Linked DNA regions of Homo sapiens: region 2 is linked to region 1. Evidence: promoter capture Hi-C in 16 types of primary human blood cells and fetal thymus (Javierre and others, 2016). All regions are on one chromosome and are shown on one strand. Each heading gives the region's core, a stretch centred on a gene start or on the middle of the fragment in contact. The rest is flanking DNA. Distances are from core to core; before and after follow the strand shown. Region 1 holds the start of ZNF543 (zinc finger protein 543). Region 2 holds the start of ZNF324B (zinc finger protein 324B).

Region 1 (5,150 bases), core at 1,149-3,648:
CTGGATCCAAGGGACTCTTGTGCCTCAGCCTCCCGAGTAGCTGGGATTACAGGTGCCTGCCAGCACACCCAGCTAATTTCTGTATTTATAGTAGAGATAGGGTTTCACCATGTTGGTCAGGCTGGTTTCGAACTCCTGACCTCAAGTGATCCACCCGCATCAGCCTCCCAAAGTGCTGGGATTACAGACGTGAGCCACCGTGCCCAGCCCATTTTGGTTCTTTGTTAATATGGTAATATTATATTTAAACTCTTGGATTGCATTATTGGTTTCCTTGGATTTTTCCTTCCTTGCCATCCAGACTCTGAATTCTAAGTCATTTCAGCCATTTAAGCATGGTTCCAAACCATCACTAGGGAGCTAGTGCAGTCGTTTGGAGACCTTTAGAGTTGCCAGAAATCTTGCACTGGTTCTTTCTCATATGTGTGGGCTGATGTTCCTTGAATCTTTGAAGTTGCTCTCCTTTGGATGGGGCTTTCTGCTTTTATATTATTTGATGCCCTTGGGAGTTTTACTGTGGTATAAGTTGGGTTTAGTTTCATGGTTTCAATTATGGGTGCTTTCACAGGCCAAGGCTCAGCTGAGCACTCCTGAGCTGCATGCTGTAAACCTGGGTAGAGGGGATTAAGCCCTTGGCTTTGTTCTCTGGCTGCTTGGGGTGAAGCACCTGCTGTGCTAGAGGGGCTGAGGTGTTCTCAGTCTGCTGGCAAAAGTGCTCCAGCAGAGCATTGTGGGGACTGCAGAGAGTGCACTGTGGCTGGGGGATGGGGAGGCCACAGGCAAGTGTGCACCACTTGGGCAGTAGAGGGGGGCTACCTGCAAGTGTGTGCCAATGGGGTGGCATGGCTGTGGTGTAGGTGAGTGAAGCACCATGGTGTGAGGGGTCCCCGGCAATGCCTCCCACCTTTTTGAATCTCCAGTGTCTATTATTCCACTATTTCCATATGTATACATCATTTAGCTACCACTTATAAGTGATAACATGCAGTATTTGACTTTGTTTCTGAATTATTTCACTTAAGAGAATGGCCCCCCAGTTCCAGCCATATTGCTGCAAAAGCCATGATTTTTTTTAATGACTGAGTAGTATTCCATGGAGTGTATATATATATACACATATATACATATACATACATATATATACATATATATACATATACATACATATATACATATATACATATACATACATATATATACATATATATACATATACATACATATATATACATATATATACATATACATACATATATATACATATACATACATATATATACATATATATACATATACATACATATATACACATATATATACATATACATACATATATACATATATATACATATACATACATATATACATATATATACATATACATACATATATACATATACATACATATATATACATATATACATATACATACATATATATACATATATATATCGCATTTTCTTTATCCAATCATCTGTCGATGGACACTTAGGTTGATTCTATGACTTTGCTACTGTGAATAGTGCTACAGTAAGCATGTAAGTACAGGCATCTTTTTGATATAGTGGTTTATTTTCCTTTAAGTAAATACCCAATAGTGGAATTGCCAGATCAAATGGCAGTTCTATTTTCAGTTCTTTGATAAATCTCCATACTGTTTTCCATAGAGGTTGTACTAATTTACATTCCCACCAATAGCATATAAGCGTTCCCTTTTCCTTGCATCCATACCAACATCTGTTGGTTTTTTACTTTTTAATAATAGCCACTCTGACCAGTATAAGATGGCATCTCAGTGTGTTTATGTGTGTGTGTTTTCTCTCATCATATCTCATTATAACCTCAAATTCCTGGGCTCAAGCAATCCTCTTGCTTCAGCCTCCCAGTGTCTAGGACTACAGGTGTACACCATCATGCCTTGCTCTTTTTTTTTTTTTTGGTAGATATAACATCTTACTATATTGCCCAGGGTGGTCTCAAACTCCTGACCTCAGCAATTATTTTGTGTTGGCATCCCAAAGCACTGAGATTACATATATGAGCTACCTCCCTAAAATAAGGGAAGTGAGCCAGAAGCTCTGGGCCCAGCCCATGATCTCAATCGGGGCGAATATCCCCGCCTCCTGACCTCAATTTTCCTAAGCTAGAAAGGACCTTTCGACCCTCCGACTTGTGCCCATAGTAAAGCGGCGGCCCTAAGACGACGCGGGGGTCCTTGTGCGCACTTAAATGGAGTCGGCTGCGCTTGGTGAGTTCCCACACCCGGTAGATGTGAGGGAAAAACTGCCTTACTCAGAAGGCACCACCCCTTGCGTCGGCCGCGGACTCTAGGCCAATGACGGGCCAGGACACGGGCGATTTCTGCGGGCCAGGGCGGCGGAGGTGGGACTTCCGCTTCGTCGCGTGACGTCATCTCCGTGAGCAGGATTGGCCCTGGAACAGTGTGGGGCCTGGACCGCTGGGTAGGCGCGTCCAGCGGCCTGAGCAGGGGAGGGTAATGAGGCTGTTACGCGCCTTCTCCGCATCTTGGCGGGAGCCTGACGCCCCGCTTCTTCCCTAACGGGGTGTTCCACCGGCGCCTGCCGAGGCCTAGGCCTCCGCAGCCGCCCTCCGTCTCCTCAGCCCCGACGCTGCGCCCGCTTTGTGCGCATTTTTCTCTGGGGAAACTGAGGCTCCGAGTGCGAAAGTCAGCCGAGGTCGCCCCGCCCAGGACAGAGAAGGGCTGGGGGTCGGCTGAGCCGCGGCATTCCCGGGCCCCGCTAGGGCTGCAGGGTCTCAGGATGGCAGCCTCGGCGCAGGTGAGTGGACGAGGTTTTGGCCTTGCTGCTGCTCTGCTACTTCTGGAGGCCTCGTGGGCAGGCAGAAGCCAAGACAGCCACAGGATGTTTCTTTGTCGCCGTCGTTTATTTAAGAGAAGTGGCCGTAGCTTGTCATTTCCTTTATCCGCAGTCCTGCAATAGTGTTGGCCTCCGACAGGTGCTCAGTCCTTGGTAGAAGGATGAATGATGCTTCCTTCATGGATCTCATCACACTTCCCTTAAATCCAACCTCCTCTGTTGCCTGCCAGCCCCTACCCCATCCACCTGGCCAACCACCCCTGACCTTGTCTCTCCATTTTTCCCTTGTCCTTTGCTCTTCAGAGCCACCAACCTGACCGTGCAGTCTTCTTCCTTTTTCCAGGCTTTCTCTTTGCACTTCCCTTTGCCTTGAACACTGCCCCTATAACTTCGCAGGGCCTCCCTCTCATATCTTTCTGGCCTCTGTCCAGATGTCACCTATTTGGAGGTGGCTTTCTTGGCAATTCCGGCTAAAGTGGCGCCTTACGCACTTGCCCATTTTTGGCAATGTGTGGCATTTTTGTATAGAGAATCTGACGATATTAAAGAAGCTTGCCGTTTGAGTTGGTCTAGGATGTTATGTGAACAAAGAGAAACGAAATAATTGCAAAGAGTGACAGCTGATCATAAAGAGTCCTTGCTGTGGGCTGATTGGCAGGCATTATTTAACCCTCAGCTCCTTTAATCCTGAACTCCTTAGAATTAGGTTCTCTTGTCCTCACTGTTTTACACAAGAGCAGCTGGAGGCTCACATAGGTTCAATTACCTGCCTTACATCACTGTAGCTCTTAAGTATCAGAAACTAACAACTGGTGTGTCTACCATCACAGCCTGTGTTTTTACCCTCTTCTTTGCCCGCAATGGTTAGGGAGGCCTGGGGGTGACACCTAAAGTAAACTTTGCAAGTTGAGCAGGCTTCCTTCTAGCAGGTGGTCTTGGACATGAGGAGTCATGGCATTTCATGCTGGTGGAACTGTGTGGACTAAAAAAAAATGGTTTATTGGTTGTTTAAGGAGTCCGCAGGGGACCCGTGTGGCTTCCACAGTGGTTTCCTGAGTGGTTTTCTCCTATACCAGCTGACACATGTCTTGGGACACAAGATTTTGTGGTCTTTTGCTAGATGTGCCTTCCTCCTTAGCCAGGACAGACATAGCCAGTCAGGGGCCCATGTTCTCATGGCTACAACCTGCTGTGTCCTCTGTGACTCTTGTTCCTTGCTCCTGAAGTATCCTGACCTCAGGGATACTTGTTGGTAGGACTCAAACAGGAAAAGGTAGTGATAGCTCGTTGTGGATTCTTCCTATGAGAATGGGCATCTGTGAGGCCCAGAAGTGTCCGAGGCAGCAGATGCAGGTCCAGGCCCTGCCACTTTTGAGGCAGGTGCCACCACCTCAGGTGACTCTTCTGTGAGGTAGGTGATTATGACTATGCTGCTCTGCCCAGGTCCATGAAAATATTTCAAGTGGCTAACCCCAGCACAGTGGCATGTGTCTGTATATCCAGCTTGGGAGGCTAAGGCAGGAGGATCATGAGTTCAAGCCCAACCTGGGCAAAATATTGAGACCCTGTCTCAAAAAAAAAAAAAAAAATCCTGAAAATATTTTCAGGGTGGCTCAAATGGATGTATTTCAATGTTTCCCATCCTCATTAACTGTGCATTAACTTTGCTAATGAAGGAGTGTCGGGTTGCATGATTAGAACATAGACCATAGGGCCCTGGGTTCAAATTCTGTCTCTCCTGATAAGAGATGTGACTTTGGGTAGACTAGTGGAGGTCCTGGACCTCAAGTCTCTGAGTGTGACATGGAGATGATGATGGTGAACTCAGGAGCTGTGGCCCTTTGCCCCAGTGTTTCCTTTACAGCTTTTCTTCAGATCTTTTGACTATTCTTGGTGAAGTGGAAAACCCTGTTGTGTTGACCTGGACATCAGGGCTCAGATAAATGAAATGAGATTTCCAAGGTCACATAGCAGGCTTGTGTTGATTTCAGGAATTTGGTTTTAAACCTCAGGAGTCTGACTCCTGAGCTGGGGACTTTTAGTCACTTTACCATGGCATGTAAAGCCATTAGCATGAGGCAGGCTCACAGGGAGGATCGGTAAGACTCAGGTGCTGTTCTTGTTGTTGTTGCTGGTGTTGTTTTTGTTATTATTCTTTCCCATTCCTCTGATGTCTCAGAGCACTTACTGTCTTGCCTCTCAGTCCCCTTAGGATTGTCCTAACCTTATTTCTGTGTGAAGTGGCTTTCTGCATAGGAGGCTTCTCTCTCTTCACTGCTGTAATTTTTTTTTTTTTTTTTGAGACGAGTCTCG
Region 2 (5,192 bases), core at 2,500-4,999, 1.1 Mb after region 1:
AAGTCTCAAGAGACCTGATGGTTTTATAAGGGGTTTCCTCTTTTGCTTGGCTCTCATTTGCTCTTACCTGCCACCATGTAAGACAGGGCTTTCACCTTCTGCCATGATTGTGAGGCCTCCCAGCCACATGGAACTGTGAGTCCATTAAACCTCTTTGTCTTCATAAATTACCCAGTCTCAAGTATGTCCTTATCAGCAATGTGAAAACAGATGAATATAGTAAATTGGTAGAGTGGGGTACTGCTATAAAGATACCCGAAAATGTGGAGGCAACTTTGGAATTGGGTAACAGGCAGAGGTTGGAACAGTTTGGAAGCCTCAGAAGGAGATAGGAAAATGTGGGAATGTTTGGAACTTCCTAGAGACTTGTTGAATGGCTTTGACCAAAATGCTGATAATGATATGGGCAATGAACTCCAGGCTGAGGTAGTCTCAAATGGAGATGAAGTTGTTGGGAACTGGAGTAAAGGTGATGCTTGCTATGTTTTAGCAAAGAGACTGGTGGCATTTTGCCCCTGCTGTAGAGATTTGTGGAACTTTGGATTTGAGGGAGATGACTTAAAGTATCTGGTCCGGGTGCAGTGGCTCACGCCTGTAATCCCAGCACTTTGGGAGGCTGAGGCAGGTGGATCATGAGGTCAGGAGATCAAGACCATCCTGGCTAACATGGTGAAACCCCGTCTCTACTAAAAAAATACAAAGAAATTAGCCTGGCATGATGGCGGGTGCCTGTAGTCCCAGCTACTCAGGAGGCTGAGGCAGGAGACTGGCATGAACCTAGGAGGCGGAGCTTGCAGTGAGCCAAGATTGCAACACTGCCCTGCAGCCTGGGTGACAGAGCAAGACTCCATCTCAAAAAAAATAAAAATAAAAATAAAGTATCTGGTGGAAGAAATTTCTAAGCAGCAAAGCATTCAAGAGGTGACTTTGATATTATTAAAAGCATTCAGTTTTAAAAGGGAAATACAGCATAAAAGTTCAGAAAATTTGCAGCCTGACCATGCAACAGAAAAGAAAAACACATTTTCTGTGGAGAAATTCAAGAAATTTGCATAAGTAACCAGGAGTCAAATGTTAATCGCCCGGACAATGGGGAAAATATCTCCAGGACATGTCAGAGACCTTTGTGGCAGCCCTTCCCATCACAGGCCCAGAGGCCTAGGAGGAAAAAATGGTTTCGTGGGCTCCCCCTGCTGTGTGCAGCCTACAGACTTGGTGCCCTGCATCCCAGCTGCTTGAACTATGGCTAAAAGGAGCCAAGGTACAGCTTAGGCTGTGGCTTCAGAGGGTGCAAGCCTCAAGCCTTGGCAGCTCCCATGTGGTGTTGAGCCTGTGGGTGCACAGAACTCAAGAACTGAGGTTTGGGAACCTCCACCTAGATTTCAGAAGATGTATGGAAATGCCCAGATTTGGAGCAGGCAAAAGTTTGCTGCAGGGGCAGGGCCCTCATGGAGAACCTCTGGTAGGGCAGTGCTGAAGGGAAATGTGGGGTTGAAGACCCCACACTGAGTCCCCACTGGGGTACTGCCTAGTGGAGCTGTGAGAAGGGGGCCACCATCCTCCAGACTCCAGAATGGTAGATACAACCAACAGCTTGGACCACGCACCCGGAAAAGTCACAGACACTCAACACCAGCCCATGAAAGCAGCTGGGAGGGAGGCTGTACCCTGCAAAGCCACAGAGCTGCAGCTGCCCAAGACCATGGGAACCCACTGCTTGTATCAGTGTGACCTGGATGTGAGACATGGAGTCAGAGGAGATTATTTTGGAACTTTAAGATTCGACTGTCCTGCTGCATTTCAGACTTTCGTGGGGCCTTTAGCCCCTTTCTTTTGGCCAATTTCTCCCATTTGGAATGGGTGTATTTATCCAACGGCTGTACCCCAATTGTATCTAGGAAGTGACTAACTTGCTTTTGATTTTACAGGCTCATAGGAAGAAGGGAATTGCCTTGTCTCAGATGAGATTTTGGACTGTGGACTTTTGAGCTAATGCTGAAATAAGTAGACTTTGGGGGACTGTTGGGAAGGCACGATTGGTTCTGAAATGTGAGCACGAGATTTGGGAGGGGCGAGGAACAGAATGATATGGTTTGGCTGTGTCCCCAACCAAATCTCATTTTGAATTGTAGCTTTCATAATTCCCACATGTTGTGGAAGGGGCCCCAGTTAGAGGTAACTGAGTCATGGGGACAGTTTCCCCCATACTATTCTTGTGGTAGTGAGTAAGTCTCACGAGATCTGATGGTTTCATAAGGGGTTTCCTCTTTTGCTTGACTCTCATTTGCTCTTGCCTGCTGCCATGTAAGACGTGCCTTTCACCTTCTGTCATGATTGTGAGGCCTCTCCAGCCACGTGGAACTATGAGTCCACTAAACCTCTTTTTCTTTATAAATTACCCAGTCTCAGATATGTCTTTATCAGCAACGTGAAAACAGACTAATACACCAGGCATCGTGGCTCCTGCCTGTAGTTCCAGCTACTTGGGAGGCTGAAGTTGGAGGACTGTTTGAGCATGGGAGGCGGAGGTTGCAGTGACCCGAGTATGCACCACTGCACTCCATCCTGGGTAAGAGAGTGAGACCCTGTCTCAAAAAAAAAAAAAAAAAAGTAAAAAAAAATTGCTTGAAATGTTAATAATGCCTCTAAGCATTTGATTAAATCACAATAGTACTTAAGTGTTCTTAAATTCTTTCAAAGCAGGAAAAATTTAAATAAAAACATTCAAAAATTGTCGAGCTATCTTACACTATAGGGATCTACAAGTAGAATCAATTCTGTGGACAGTTATAGCTGACAGTAGACAGATATTTATAGATGGAGGTGGGTATAGAGGAAGACAAAATGAATTAACGTACTTGACATCTGAGAACTGTCTAAGGATCCTAAAAACAAGACCCTCACAGGGAAGCAACAAAGAGAGAATCGTTTATTCTCTGCCAACAACATGGTCAGTCTACATTGAGACTGCCCTGCCTTTTGTTGTTATGTGTCAAAGACACTTAGATTGGTCCAGAGAAAAAAGGAACAAAGCATCCATGTTGTGATGTGTGGGGCAAAGCAAGAACTAGATGGTCTAAGGACAAGCAAGGCTGGGGAATTACCTTCTGCTCGTCCAAGTTACAAGGAAAACAAGTTTTGGGCGAGCGTCCAAGAACAATCACAGAATCAAGACAAATGACAAGCGGGTAGTGTCATTACAGGCTGAGAATTCTTGGTGTAGAGGTTGAAAAACGGACCTTAAACCTTTACGGGACACTGACACACAGAGAGATCAAACCCTCGCCCAGGATGCACAGTCAGTGAGATGCAAAGCTGGGAAGGGAACCCGGAGCTCCAGGCATCTGCTCCTCCACCTACACCTGCCCTACCCGGTGCGTTTTCTCCTCCCTGCTACCTGCTGGTGTTGCCTTCTGGAACCTCCGCAGTTTCTGCTTTCACACCTGCAGGGTTTAGTCTCCAGGGCTGCTTAGGTGGGTGCCAGGAACTGGGAATCCCCAACGCGGGACAACCTGCCGGGCGACTCAACCAGTGCCACGGAGCCCTTGGAAACCCGCGGCAGCTGCGCTACTCCATTTCCAGGCGCCCAGCGCGGCGGCGCTTAGCCGTTGCCATGGAGACTGGTAATGGCCCCGCCTCCGCGCCGAAAAACAGGCAGGAACCACATAACCCAGAAGGCTGTGCGCAAGCGTCTGCGCGCGTATTGGGGCAATGTGAGCTCTGGGGGCTGGACTTCCGGCGTTGGGACTGTCACTTGGCTGCTCGCGTCAGGCCACACCGGTGGTCTGGGCTGTGGCGCGCGGGTCGGGGCCCGAGGCGGGCGGCCAGGAAGGTACGGACCACGAGCAGCCGGCCGCGCCCCCAAGCCTCGGTATCTTCGAGTATGACGTGGTCGGCCCGGGGGCGGTCGGGCCCCGGCGGGAACCACGCGTTCTCCCGCCCCGCGGAAGCCCAGGAGGCAGCGCATTGGGCATTCTGCGCCCATGACTGCCGGGCAGGCTGAGGCGCGGGGCAGCCGCGGGAGGCTGCTGGCGGGGATGGCGGTCCCGGGTGGTCCATGCCTTTCTTCCCTCCCAGTTGCGGGTTCCGCTGGCGGCGGTGGCGCTGACAAGCCCGCGCCGGGGGGGCGGGGGAGTCCCTGCTCACACAGACTGCGCCCCCACGGAGTGAGGCCGCTTCCTAGACCTCGCCTAGTCGTCTTTCCTCTCCCTGCCCTGGGGGGGTTGCGGGGGTCAGTGCAAACTCCTGCGTCCAGGGCACTGGTGAGCTCCCGACTTCCGGCAGCCAGGGGGCTGAGGTCCCGAAGGAGGCTCCGAGGGGAGAGTCCTGCGTGTGCAAAACCTGGGAGGGGAGCCGAAGCCCAGATGCTTCTGGGACTGAGCGCTCTCGATGTGGAGCTGGAGTAGAGGGGATGTGTGCGGCTGCAGTAGCAGGCGAGGGAGTGGGCTTTATCTCGAGGGCGTCGGGAGACATAGAAGTTTTGAACAGAATCAGGACATCCTCTGAGTTGGGACTTTAAAACGGTTCCACCGTTTGTTGCGTGGAGAACAGACATGCAGGGGTGTCGGCATGAAGGGAAGAACCGACTGCCACAGTCTGGGCAGCAGTGGAGGTGGGCGACCAGGTGAATTCTGGTGGATCTGCGGATGCATCAGGTGTGGGCTGTTTGAAGAACTAAGTACCCCATGTTGTTCAGCCTGAGCGCCTGGAAGAAGAGAGCTGCTGTAGATAGAAAGGAGAATTGAAAGGAAAGCAGGTTTCCTTCAGGGGAAAGATCAAGAGTCTGGGATGTCCCAGGTTGGTCATGTCACTGGACCTGACGTTGTTGGTGTCCTGGGCTGAGGACAGGGCCTATAAACTGGACTGAAGAAGGCGATGAGCAGTCAGGCGTGCGGAGTTACAGCTTGAGGGTAAAGAAAACCGGCTGGGGTGCCTGAGGCTATCAGGGGAGGAGTTCGGCAGGTGGCTGAATAGGAGAGGGTGGCAGCAATGTGGGAAAGAAATTGCGGGAGCGCTGAGATCGAGACCATCCTGGCTCACACAGTGAAACCCGGTCTCTACTAAAAATCCAAAAAAATTAGCCAGGTGTGGTGGCGGGAGGCTGAGGCAGGAGAATGGCGTGAACCCGGGAGCCGGAGCTTGCAGTGAGCCGAGATTGCCCCACTGCACTCCAGCCTGGGTGACGGAGTGAG

Evidence for each region. The method cuts DNA at HindIII sites, captures the fragments that hold promoters and counts their contacts. A CHiCAGO score of 5 or more calls a contact.
Region 2: the fragment with the promoter of ZNF324B here is called in contact with the fragment with the promoter of ZNF543 in region 1 in 1 of 17 cell types (neutrophils); the score reaches 5.9 in neutrophils.

The regions. Positions count from the first base shown.
Region 1 is chr19:57,318,074-57,323,223 of GRCh38, forward strand. It overlaps ZNF543 (zinc finger protein 543), which reads left to right and starts at 2,399. Exons shown (of 4, transcript NM_213598.4): 1 at 2,399-2,798. The coding sequence starts at 2,781. RefSeq lists enhancers at 775-1,292, 2,218-2,337, 2,348-2,497. The HindIII fragment of the contact is 3,609 bases long and covers 1-3,386 here.
Region 2 is chr19:58,447,873-58,453,064 of GRCh38, forward strand. ZNF324B (zinc finger protein 324B) reads left to right here and starts at 3,750. Exons shown (of 4, transcript NM_207395.3): 1 at 3,750-3,832. RefSeq lists silencers at 3,456-3,782, 3,760-4,189. The HindIII fragment of the contact is 9,897 bases long and covers 1-5,192 here.